2 separate regions of the Homo sapiens genome follow, and region 2 is linked to region 1. The links are contacts of gene promoters, found by promoter capture Hi-C in blood cells and fetal thymus (Javierre and others, 2016). All regions are on one chromosome and are shown on one strand. The core of a region is centred on a gene start or on the middle of the fragment in contact, and the rest is flanking DNA. Distances in the headings are between cores, read along the strand shown. Region 1 holds the start of CCDC112 (coiled-coil domain containing 112). Region 2 has its middle 99 kb from the start of YTHDC2.

The links. The method cuts DNA at HindIII sites, captures the fragments that hold promoters and counts their contacts. A CHiCAGO score of 5 or more calls a contact.
Region 2: a contact is called between a fragment that was not itself captured here and the fragment with the promoter of CCDC112 in region 1, in 3 of 17 cell types (total B cells, total CD4 T cells and total CD8 T cells). The highest score is 6.4, in total B cells.

What each region holds. Positions count from the first base shown.
Region 1 is chr5:115,293,770-115,300,340 of GRCh38, forward strand. It overlaps CCDC112 (coiled-coil domain containing 112), which reads right to left and starts at 2,885. Exons shown (of 10, transcript NM_001040440.3): 1 at 2,658-2,885. The coding sequence starts at 2,774. LOC105379129 (a long non-coding RNA gene) reads left to right here and starts at 3,159. Exons shown (of 5, transcript XR_948684.3): 1 at 3,159-3,579. RefSeq lists a silencer at 2,534-2,983. The HindIII fragment of the contact is 8,729 bases long and covers 1-6,571 here.
Region 2 is chr5:113,610,147-113,616,072 of GRCh38, forward strand. No RefSeq gene overlaps it. Among named protein-coding and RNA genes, the nearest start is that of YTHDC2, 99 kb to the left of the region's middle. The HindIII fragment of the contact is 2,823 bases long and covers 2,065-4,887 here.

The DNA.
Region 1 (6,571 bases), core at 1,635-4,134:
CAGGTGAAAATAGTTATTATTGAAGGGTTATTTCAGGCAGCCAAGGAACATAAAATTCAGGTCATCAGAGGGAAGGTCCTTAGAAACAAAACAGAAGACAGAGCCTTATGCTGGTACAAAACCAGCATCACACTAATGTGATACTGTTAAAGATACTTCAAAAAAGTCATAATTCAGCAACTACAATGATCAAGAGAACAGATGGTAACAAGAAGGAAATGACATTGGAGAGGAGGATAGAGATTTGCGGTCTTCAGTTTTGAAAGGCAATAGCTAAGAGGGGTTATGAACAAATAATATACAAATATTAAAAAGTATGGAAAATGTGTTAACTTTTCATAATGAGTGAGGAATTTATGAGATTCCACGCCCTGAGGATATTGTAAAATAAAATACAATATAAAATAGTTTTAAAACTTCAGAGATATTTACTCCAAAGTAATTTAAAGACACTGTGATGGACTGAATTGTGTTCCCTCAAAATTCCTATGTAGAAGGCCTGATCCCCAAATAACTCTATCTGGAGATGGGGTCTTTATGTTAAATGAGGTCATTAAGGTGGGGACCTAATTTGATAGAACTAGTGTTCCTATAAGAAGAGATGCCAGAGATCTCTTTCTCTCCTCTTGTAACAGAGAAAAGACTATGTGAGGACACAGTGAGAAGGTGGCTGCCTACAGGCCAGGAAAAGAGGCCTCACCAGAAACCAACCCTAAGGGCAACTTGATCTTGAACTTCTAGCTTCTAGAACTGTGAGAAAATAAACTTTTGTTGTTTTAGCCACCAAGTCTGTAGCATTTTGTTATAGAAGCCCTAGCTGACAGGAACTTTAGATATTTTGGTAGACATCTCTAGTATCATGAGATTGCCACCAGGAAAATTCTCTCTTCTCAAGAAAATACTAGTTGGTTTCAGTGTTAAAGTCAGTAGGAATATTCGTTCATTTAATCATATGACAAATATTCAAGTTCGGTGTTAGGCTGTAGAATTTGTGTGTATAGGTATGTGCGTGTGGTATGCTGGGGGAAGTACAAAAATGGATAACATGTAAACTCCTAAACATTATCACAATATAGCATGCAGTAATGCTGCATTGTTTTGTTTTGTTTTTTTAAAAAAGCCCAAACACACGTGAAGAATTCTACCTAACTATGCTGAGGTAGATTCTCAACAATGAGGCTCTGCTTTCCCTACTAAAGTGGTAAGACAGTATACACCATGGTTCTCAATCTCAGCACTACTAACTTTTGGACCAGATGATTTTTGTTATGGGTGGCTGTTCTCTGGCCTGTATCCATTAGATGCTAGCAGCCCCTCAACACCCCCCTGCTCCCCACTCTGACAGCCAAAAATGTCTCCAAACATTGCTAGATATCCTCTAGGGGATTGATAAAATATCTGAAAGAGCTCCACAGGTGATCTGATCCAACCCCTGAGAAGGCAAACATCACAAAAGTGTGCATCAATAACAACATTAGGCAACTCGCAAGAAATGCAGATCAGAAGACAGAACATTGCTACAAGAATTTAGAGAAATGATGGAGAAAGCCAGCAACATGGTGTCACACATTTTTTTGAGCATAGTACTTAAAAATACTTTACGTATTATGTATATTTATATATTTTACATTTTTTCCTGAGATACTTGGGACAGAGTTAGAATAATAAAGAGAATTATAGAGGATGTGTGAGAAAATTTGCCGTAGGTGGAATTTCCTGAAGGTCTACGAGTAAAGACACTGTATTTCCTTAAAGGAGGAAAAAGATGGAACCTCTCCTCAGCTCATGACAGCCTTCCTTCAGGTTTATATTGATCCACAAATTATTTAGTAAGTGCATACTACGTTCCAGGCACTACACAACAGGCATAGTTCTTGGTGCTGGGAATACAATAAAGAATAAAATTTCCAATACTTTCTGCCCTCATGGAGCTTACATTCTCATGGGGGTGCGAGGGAGGGTGAGGGGTGTGAGGAGAAACATAAACAATAGAAATAAAGTATGTAATATAATATATGGTACTAAGTGCTATGGGGAAAAATAAAACCAGAAACAGGGACTGGGTGTGCCGCGTAAGGCGATTCATTTTAGGGAGATCATGGAAAGTCTCGCTGAGCTGATAACATCTGAACAAAGATACCTTGTCCTCACCACCTAGAAAGCGGTCCTAAGCCGATCACTGGAAACACCTCTGCCTCCGACCATCCCATATTGTCTTTCTCCTTGTGTTCCCAGCGCCGGTACAGTAACAGAGCTGCCACCAATTACTGAGCACAGAGTCCCCCTCCAATCAAGCACTGTGCCAGGGGCTCCCCAGACATAACGTTAGTCCAAAGCTCGGGAGGTGCATGTTACTATTCCCAATTTTTAGAGAAGAAAGTGAGTCGCCGACAGCATATGTTCTTATCACGCGGCTAGGAAGCGGCAGAGCCGGGTTCCCACCCAGGTCTTCCTCGACTCCGAAACCACATGGAGGCGGCTCTGCAAAAGCTGTTAAACGCACAAGCCAACAAAGAGCAACGCCCAGCGCGTGCCAGGCCCCGAGCAGGGGAGGCGAACGCCGCGCCTCCCGCCGGCGCTGCAGAGGGCACCTGTTCAGCCAGGGCCTGCAGCCCCTCGCCTGCCGCCAGAGCAGCTCTCGGTTCTCCCGGATTTACCTGTTGAGGCGCTGGCGTCGCTCCCACGCCGGTCCCGGTGGCCGCGCCCGCCCCTGCCACAGCCCCGGCTACCGCGGTGGCCGCAGCCGCTACCACAACCGTCGTCAGTGCGGCCATGTTTACCCGCCGAGCTACTCGGGCCGCGGCGGCCACCGGTGCCTGGGGATTCGTGGCAGGCGCACCCTGGCCTCTGCAGACAGCTCCCTGCGCTGCGGGCTTGGCCGGGATGCAGGGCGGGGCCGAGATGTAGGGCGGGGTCGGGATGCAGGGCGGGGCTGAGATGCGGGGGTGCAGGGGTGCGGGGGTGCGGGAGGGGCGGGACTGGGGTGCAGGGCGGGGCCGAAATGCGAGGCGGGGGCCGGGATTCAGGCGGGGAGGGGCGGGGCGAGGGAGGGGCAAGGTGCCGGGCGGAGCCGGGATGCAGGGGAGGGGCGGGTCTGGGGTTCTGGGGCGGGCGGGTGTGGGGGCGGGGCGGGGCGGGGCGGGGGCTGCGCTCTGCCCTGTCGCGGGTTTATATACCCTTTGGGCACTTAACCGACTGTGCCAGCCCAGTCCCATACCTGTCAAGAAAATTCATTGTCTTACATCGTCCTTAAATTTTATTCGTGTTATAGTCAATATATACATATTTTTACCTAATATACATCCGCTTTCTAGGTTTCTACTTAGCGCTGCTGAGACTGAGTCTAAATGAAAAAACATTATCAATGGATTCTAACAATAAATCATATTTTAGATTTTTAAAGAAAAAAACCCAGCTTGCTCCACAGAACCAGATATCAGAGGCAGGAATGCCACAGTTACATTCCTAGGACTTGGTCAATGAGAAGACAGATTCCAAAAATACAGTGCTGGGAAGTTGGAAAAAAGCCACAGATGACGCTTCCAGTCAAGACAACCTGTGGCAACTGAGCTGATTTCTGTAGGTACTACCTTTTCCCCCTTTATAGAAATCGATTCATTCAGTCAGTCAATATGGAGCTCCTAGCATATGTCAGGCACTGTTCTAGGCCTTGGGAATTCATTGTTGAATTAGACACATAGGTAAGGTTCCTTCACCTTTAACAAGTAAACAAATAGGTATTTATTGAGCAATTCCTTTATGCCAGGGCTGTTATAAGTGCTTTATATGCACTTTTGCATTTAATCTTCACAAATAACTTCATGAAGTAGGTACTATTATCATCTCCATTTCAGTGATAAAGTTAAGGATCACATGGCCACACAGGTAGAGGGTAGGATACCTATCTAGACAGCCTGACTCCAGAGACCATCCTGGTAGAGGTATTAAACAGGCAGCGGGATAAACGCCTCTGGAGCCCAGGAGAGAGAGAGCTAAAGATACGAATTTGATCTTCCTATAGAAAATATTTGAAATAAGACTGAATGAGCTCACCCAGGGTGAGTATAAATTGAAGTCTGAGAACTAAGCCTAGGCCACTCCGAGAAGGTGACCACGGACAAGAGGAGAAGGGGACCAATATGGAGAGATCTGTGAGAAGGGAGGAAAACCGGAAGTCTGTGGAGGGAAGTTTTTGCAGAAGAGGCCGGACGTGGTGGCTTACGCCTGTAATCCCAGCACTTTGGGAGGCCGAGGTGGGCGGATCACGAGGTCAGGAGATGGAGACCATCCTGGCCAACATGGTGAAACCCCATCTCTACTAAAAATACAAAAATTAGCTGGGCGTGGTGGCGCCTGTCTGTAGTCCCAGCTACTCGGGAGGCTGAGGCAGGAGAATTGCTTGAACCAGGGAGTCGGAGGTTGCAGTGAGCCAAGATCGTGTCATTGCACTCCAGCCTGGTGACAGAGTGAGACTTCGTCTCAACAAAAAAAAAAAAAAAAAAAAAAAAAAAAAAAAAAAAAAAAAAAAAAAGAGAAGAAGAAGAGGGGAGAAGAAGAAGAAGGAAGAAGAATGGAGGAGAAGAAGAAGGCAAAGAAGAAGAAGGAGAAGGAGAAGAGAGAAGAAGGAGAAGGGAGAAGGGAGAAGGAGGAGGAGAAGGAGGAGCAGGAGGAGGAGGAGAAGGAGGAGCAGGAGGAGGAGGAGAAGGAGGAGGAGGAGGAGAAGGAGGAGGAGGAGAAGGAGGAGGAGGAAGAGAAGAAGAAGGAGAAGAAATAAGAAGAAAAAGAAAGAAGGAGGAGGAGGAGAAAATGGTCAGCTGTGTGGTTCACTGCCTAGAGGCTGAGTGAAGGGGTAACAAAGAAATGATGGTTGCATTTGGCAACAGGGAGGCCGTGGGTTTATGGGGTAGGTAGACCAAAGCCTGGCTGACTGCATTGAGGAGATAATGGAGGTGACGAGGTAGAAACTGTTTTTCGCTATGATTTTGATCGATTTTATGGTGCAGGTGATCAGAGAAATGAAGTGGTAGCTGGGGGAAGATGTGTGATCAAAGAGGGTCTTTGTTGTTGTGTTGTGTTTCAAGGTAGGGACTAGTAGAAGGAGTTCATGCTGCTGGGAATTATTTAGTGGAGACAGAAGTTTGATGCTGCAGGACAGAGGCAGTCAGACCCTCTTGAAAGTAAGGCTGATGGAGTCCAGAGCATAAGTGGGAGGTTTGGTCTTTGATAGACGCACAGACTCTTCTGACACAGGGAGGTAGTGGGTGGGGACTATGGGGAGGCCAGAGAGTCCTGCATACATGGGTTGCAGCACAAGGTAGTTGGAAGATTTGGAGGGAGGAGATGGTTGGCCCCACCTCCCCACCCCTGTGTGAAGTAGGAGGAAGTAAGTCACTTGGGTGTATTGAGAAGGTAAAACTTCTTTAATTTTTGTATTACCTTTTATCCAAATGAGCCCTGTTACTATAGCACTGTCTGAATTCCTGTAATTATTAGTCCAGAATTATCTTGCAGCCTCGGAAAAAAAGCAAGTCAACCAACGATTTGAGTTGAGTGGTCTTTTACAATTTTAATACTGCCACTAAAAATAAAGAGAAGCCTAAGATCATTTTGCACTTCCTATTGTTTTTAGAGTATATCCTGCACTGGATATCTAGAGTACTGTGTTCAGAAGTTTTCTGAAATCACCCTTTTCTCTATGTGCTATGGAATCAATTTGATATATATTTCAGTTCTTTTGATTACATTTGTGTTCAATTTCAATGTTTCCTTTTTTGTTTTGTTTTCTTTCAATTTACTTTTTTTAAAAAATAAGTAAGTTATGTATAACATGTATAAAGTCAAAACTCTATGACAAGGTATGTTTAAAGAAGGCTTACTCCCCAACATATCCTCTCCATGGCCTTTCAACTAATCCTCTATGGTAAATAATTGTGTTAATTTCTGGTTCTTTTATGTTTCATTTGCAAAAGAAAAAAAGGTAAATAGACAAATACATTTTTATTTTTCTTTTTTTCTTACAAAAACATCTAGCATATTATATTAGTGTTCTAGGGCTGCATAACAAAGTGCCATAAACTGGGTAGTTTGTAACAACAGAAATTTATTCTCTCATAGTGTAGTAGGCCAGAAGTTCAAAACCAAGGTGTGGGCAGGTCTGGTTTCTTCATGGGGGCTTAATGGGAAAATCTGTTCCATGCCCCTCTCCCAGCTTCTGATGATTGCCAGCAATCTTGAGACTCCTTGGCTTGTAGAAGCATTACTCCAATTTCTACCTCCATCGTTGCACAACACATATCTGTGTCTCTGTGTCCAAACTTTCCTCTTATAAGAATACCAGTCACTGGTTTAGGGCCCATTCTAATGCAGTATGACCCCATTTTAACTTGATTACATTTGGAAAGACCCCATTTCCAAATCAGGTCACATTCACAGGTACCAGGGATTAGGACTTCAGCATATCTCTTTCGAGGACACAATTCAACTGATAACACATGTATTATACTCTTGAAATTTTTGCTTAACAATATATACTGCACCTTGAAATTTTTGCTTAACAATATATACTGGAACT
Region 2 (5,926 bases), core at 2,226-4,725, 1.7 Mb before region 1:
AAGTATTTTTTAAAGCAAATATAAAAGCTATAATGCCTTTCAGTGCAAGTGGCTTTAATGTTTAAGAAATAAAAATAATCTTAGGGATTATTGGTAAAATATAAATGTCATCAAAATGCAAATGGGTGGTCTACATCATATAAGTCTGATACTAGGTTTGATAAATGTTTCAAGACTGTAAGCTGCCTGCTTTACAATTTGGTAAGGCCTGGGGACGTACAAAATTAACCACACCCCTAACTATGCTGGAAAAAGTGACTTTATCTGTGTCTAGTACATAATCAAAACAACTTACCAGGTTTCACATTAAAGTTAAAAACTGCTAAAAGTTATCATTATAACATGTAACTTAAACCACTAAAAATAGATTTACGTATGAGGTGTGTAAAAGCAGTAAAATGTGTCTTTAGTAGAAGATTATAAGAAGGCATGGAAATGTAAATTTCACCTAGGAATAAAGGATTGTCTTAAATTAGATAAGATACATCTGAATGTTTAAGCAAGTTGTGGAAATATTGTAAAATTAATCTTGCAAAAAAATCCTGTGTGTAAACATTAACTAAATTCAAAAGGGTAATACAAAAGGGTATTATATGGTCTTTTCATAAATTGAGGATTGAAATAAAAATACAGCAAGTTTGTCTTAATAAACTAGTCTGCCTTTTAGCAGAAAGGTTATAAAAGGTTTGTAAAAATTTTACCTCATGGTCAAAATGGTTAAAATTAGATGGAATTGTCTATGAGGCTTTACCAAAAAATTTGGGTTAACGTTAATAAACTAATGCAAGGGTAAAATTTGGCTTTGAACAGGATTTTCATGTAATAGTAAAGGCTAATGAAAGGTTTTTGCCTTTTTAAAATTTTTGAGTCATCATTTTGGCAAAATAAATAAATTTATGGTAGTCTAGAATTCTATTTCATAACATCAATATTTTAAACCTGTAACATATTTACCAGGTTTTCCAAAATCAAACCTCAGTTTCAAAATTGTCTTTCGTGATACTTGGCTTTTCGGAGGCTCCAGAAGGGACCCTGGAGTGTCCAGAAAAGAGAGAAAAACAGGATTATTTAACAGGTTTAGGTATATGAGATTGCCAAAATGATGTTAAATCATCTTCAGGTTATATTTTAGTGGATAATGTTAATATATGTTCCAAAATTGTGTGAGATGTCAAAAAATTCTAATGATAAAATATGTTATATTTAATGGCAGTTATCTTTCTGGTCATCTTTAAGAATTTGGTATGTGTGTCAATCAAAAAGTTCATTGTAAATTAATTCTGAGCTAAGCAGTAAAGGGACTTATTGGAAGGATGTCAAGCCATTCACAGAATTAACGAGATTGAAGAACTAGATATTGAAATAGGCAGGGGTGTGGGAAGATGGAATTTTAGCCAAGGAAGGGTCAGGCCAGGACCTTATCCCTGGCTTTGCTGCCATTAGACACTATAGAGCTCTTCAAACACTTTTCATCCTTCCCTCTATCTTTGCACCACCCTTTCAAGAATCAAAGTCTGATTGGAGCAAATGACCAGATAAGCGGGTGCTTTTCTGGCCAAAGAAAATCAGGCAGGCCTCTTCTGCCATGTCAGGTAGAACCCTACTTCTCACCAACCCTGATACAATGCAGTAACCTCCACAATAGGAAAGGGGTTTCAATTATGGTTAGATTTTTTTTTTTAAAGACAATAGATGTGCTACAGCATTTACTGATCCCTGCTGATTATAGGATCCTTTTTCATTTGCCTAGTGATTGAAATAATGTATAAAGTGGAAGTTGTTAAACTGTGGCCCATGCATATGATTCAAGGGTCATATATTGTCTAAAATTGTGTGCAGAAATTTGAGGTATATGCATTTCGCATTTTTGGCGGTGGGAGGGTCCATAACTTCTCCAAGAGGTCTACAATCTACAAAAAATTGAGAAATACTCTCTGGAAAGTTCTATATAATTGCTTTCTCCTTTTGAAAGTTCACTCATTTGTCTGCATTAATTGTCACTAGTATTACTACCTTTTATCCGCTAGATGGTGATATTGTACGTGTTTTCATGCACCAATCATAAGCTTCATTGATATGAATTGAAATAGCTCAGTGGTTTAAACGAAACCTCTTCAAAACCATTTGAGGGAAGGAAGGAATTTTAGAAACTGCATATTCCTTCTCCTTGTCTTACACATGAGGAACTGCGTTCCCAAAAGTTTAAGAGAGAGCCTTGACTGGAAAAAAAACCCCTTTGAAAAAATGGAAAGGATGCCCTGAGGGGAAGGAGCACCTGGAGTCTGGGCTCTCCTCTTTCAACCCCAAATCACTTTAGGATGCACCTCTGGCTAGCTGAGAGACTGGGGGTGGTGCTGGTTGTGGACTTTAGATGCCTTTGGCTCTGAGACACATATATTTCAGTTAAAACTGACCATGACTGAAAATCTGATCCTTCTCTTGGGATCCTGATAATGCTAAAGAGAGCTTTACTTAGGGAAGAGTTTGCAAAGAAAGCCGCTTTTCTCTGACATAAGCCTCCCCTCTCCCCTTTCCTGGTTAGCTTTAGACATTTCTTAAGTGCAGTATGTTATTTTGAGGGCCAAAGGTAACCCTATATAGATGTACGTATTATGATAACAGGAATGAGTGACTGAGGCAAAAGTCTTGTTATCAATGGTGAATATCACAGTTACTGTTGGATAATCTGTGTGGGTCTGCAGCAGCCTCAGTTCTTGACTCCTCAGAAGAAAGAATTCAACTAAGGGGCATAAGGCAGAAGAAAAGACCAAGGCAAGTTTCAGAGCAGGAATGAAAAGAAAGTAAAGTACACTTGGAAGAGGGTCAAGTGGGAATGTTGGAGGTAAAGTGCCCTGTTTGACCTTGGACTTAGGGTTTTATATGCTGCCAGTGTCTTGCCTCCCTTTTACCTTGATTCTTCCCTTGGGGTGAGCTGCCCACATGTGTGGTGCTGCTAGCACTTGGGAGGTGAGTATGTGCAGTATGTTTACTGGAGTTGTAAGCATGCTCACCTGATGCAGTCTTCCGTTTTCCAGAGGAATGCCCCCAGAAAGTCATATACCAGTTAATTTGCACCATTTTGCCTCTTAATGCATATGTTTGAGCCCACTCACCCAATTCCTGAGATCTTATTGGGAAGCTGCTGATCTCCAGTTTCAGTTGTTTTTATCTAATGGGAAACTGCCTTTCTCTGGCAGAGGCTGTGACCAATTATCATTTTGGAGAGGCCATGTGACAAACTGCCTGACCATCACCTGATGGTTGCCTGGCATTCCTGGTGGTGGTTAGGGGAGCCCTCTCTTGCCCTGCTCGTGCCTCATGGCTGTGTCCCCACCCAGATTTCATCTTGAATTCCCACGTGTTGTGGGAGAGACCAGGTGGGAGGTAATTGAATCATGGGGGCAAATCTTTCCCATGCTGTTCCTGTGATAGTGAGTAAGTCTCACGAGATCTGATGGTTTTAAAAAGAGGTATTCTCCTGCACACGCTCCCTCATTTTTTGCCTGCTGCCATCCAGTTAAGATATGACTTGCTCCTCCTTGCCTTCTGCCATGATGTGAGGCTTCCCTAGCCACATGGAACTGTAAGTCCAATTAAACCTTTTTCTTTTGTAAATTGCTCAGTCTCAGGTATGTCTTTACCAGCACCATGAAAACGAACTAATACACCTGACTAGCTACCTACTGTAACAGTCTCAACTATCTAGATTTATTAAGCCAGCTTTAGGGTATTCTGCGAAAAAATAAGCCATAGACATATGTTCTTCTCTGATTGTTTTTCAGAGAGGTTTTCAGGAGTTCAGTATTTATACACTTCCTTAAAGCAGGGGAAGGCATTTGGAAGAGAGACAGGTAGGCAGTTAGATGAATTACATTCTTATGTAATTTGGAAGAGATTACGGCATTTGGAAGAGAGACAGGTAGGCAGTTACATTCTTATGAGACTTTAGTTAGTGGCCAGTGAATCTACATTTTACATGGGATAAAGGGAACCCCTGAAGAGAAAAAAAGGAGTAAAGGAGAATCAATAATGCAGACATTTCTGGGTAGATGGAGGAAGTGACTGACCTCATCTTGTCTTTGTTCTGTACCTGGTAAGATATGTATAACAGACTTTAGTCTTAGGAACTAGACTTAGACTGTAGACCCACAGTTACAATTGGCATGTCCTTGTTTATGGGAGGCCAGCAAATAATTTACTTATGAGTGATCTGTGGAGACAGCCCTCCCTAGATGCCTGAGGCCTTTCACTTCTCCACCTCTCCTTGAGGATCTGGCTGATGCATAATGCTAGTAGCAGCTATTCATTTGCAAGAGGATGTTGCACGACTCAGTCTTCAGGCTTAACCTTCCTTTTGCATAAGGAGTTTGGGGGTCCTGAGATTCTTTAAAATTTTCCTTTACAATAAGCAGTTTTGACAACACTTAAGAGATGTGCTGTAAATATTAGTGTTTGGAGTTCCCAGACATGAAGATAGAGAAAGCCTCAAGTCACATGGGCTGCGAGAGTGGAGCACGGTGGAAAAGTGGCTGGACAGATTCTCACAAGCAGTGGGTCTTCCTCAATGAGTTCTGTGGCATCCTTCATGTTCAGACCATTAAACCAAGGCACCAAATGGAGCTACCACATGTGCTCAGGACCCACGTTTCTGGAGGATAATCCTTCCAAATGAATCCTCCAAAAGTGTCTTTAAGCAGTATCCAAAGCTACTGCTATGTCTTTTCCCCTCCACTTCCCTATTATGTTTGCTCCTCAGTCCTCAGCCACACCCTAGAAAAGACAGGAATCAAAGTACCTTTCCTTCACACTTCTTTCCACCAAAGCTAACAATATTAAATTAATAAAGTGCCTTTTAAAAACCAACCTTTCCATTTGCACTAATAGACAAGCTTTGCTATATCTGAAACTCAAGGTTGTCTCTGCTAAATTTCAGTAAACAATTGTGAAAGTCATGATGATGGATAATCACTGTCGTCTCTACAGGTCCACTATCCTATGCCTCAATATGCTGACCTTTATGTTCTTTGATTTCCTGTTAGGTTTGGCCAATGGGAAGCAACAGCAAGAGATGGATAGATGGAAGGAGAGAGAGCTGGAGAATTTCTTTCCTTACATCAGTTGGGTAGCTGGGCAGATTGACTGGGTCTGAAACCAAACACAGGTTCAGCTACTTGCCACTTGCAAGGTCAAAAATCAAGGACAAGGTGGGGTGGAAGGAAGGAAAGGAATCGCCAAGGCTTTGTGCCTGAAAGGAACCATTTCAAATTTCTGGATAGAACGCAAGGGCTTAAAAAGGGAGGTTGGTGGTGGGAGGGGCATGCAAGAGGGGCAAGGAGGTGCCAGTCAGTCTATGTAAGTTGCTCTGATGACTTGAGTTATTACCCCATCTGTTGAACGGGCTGGCACCATCCCAGGCACAATCGGGGTGAAAGCTAACTGCAGCTTTGAGTAATCTCCTGGAGGAGGAGAATTCCATAGGTACCTAGATTGTTTCAAGACTCAGTCCATGAACTTCCAAGAAAACATATAATTAGATGAGGGGGACATTGTGCAAGGGAGTGCCTGGTGGAAGGAAAGAGAGCAAAGGTTACCATATAATTTTCAAGCATCTAAACATAAAGTAAGCAAGGAGGAAAATGGAAAAAGATTAAAAAATTAAAAATAGAGTATTTGGTTACATGTCCTTGACCCTCTGCTGAAGGCCACAGCTTATGACCACCCTCTCCTACAGCTACCAGAGTCTCGGTTTCCAGTAACTCGTTGTTCCTTCCTCTGGCTCATCAGGCCCAGGAATGATAGCAGCTTCCTGTTATTGCTAGTCATGGGGTGTTTCATTATCTCTTGTTATTTTTCCTTAACTCTACTCACTCCTTTGTAAACAGACCTTTCACTAATAACTCTTCACTCTTTCCATCTGCTTTCAGCC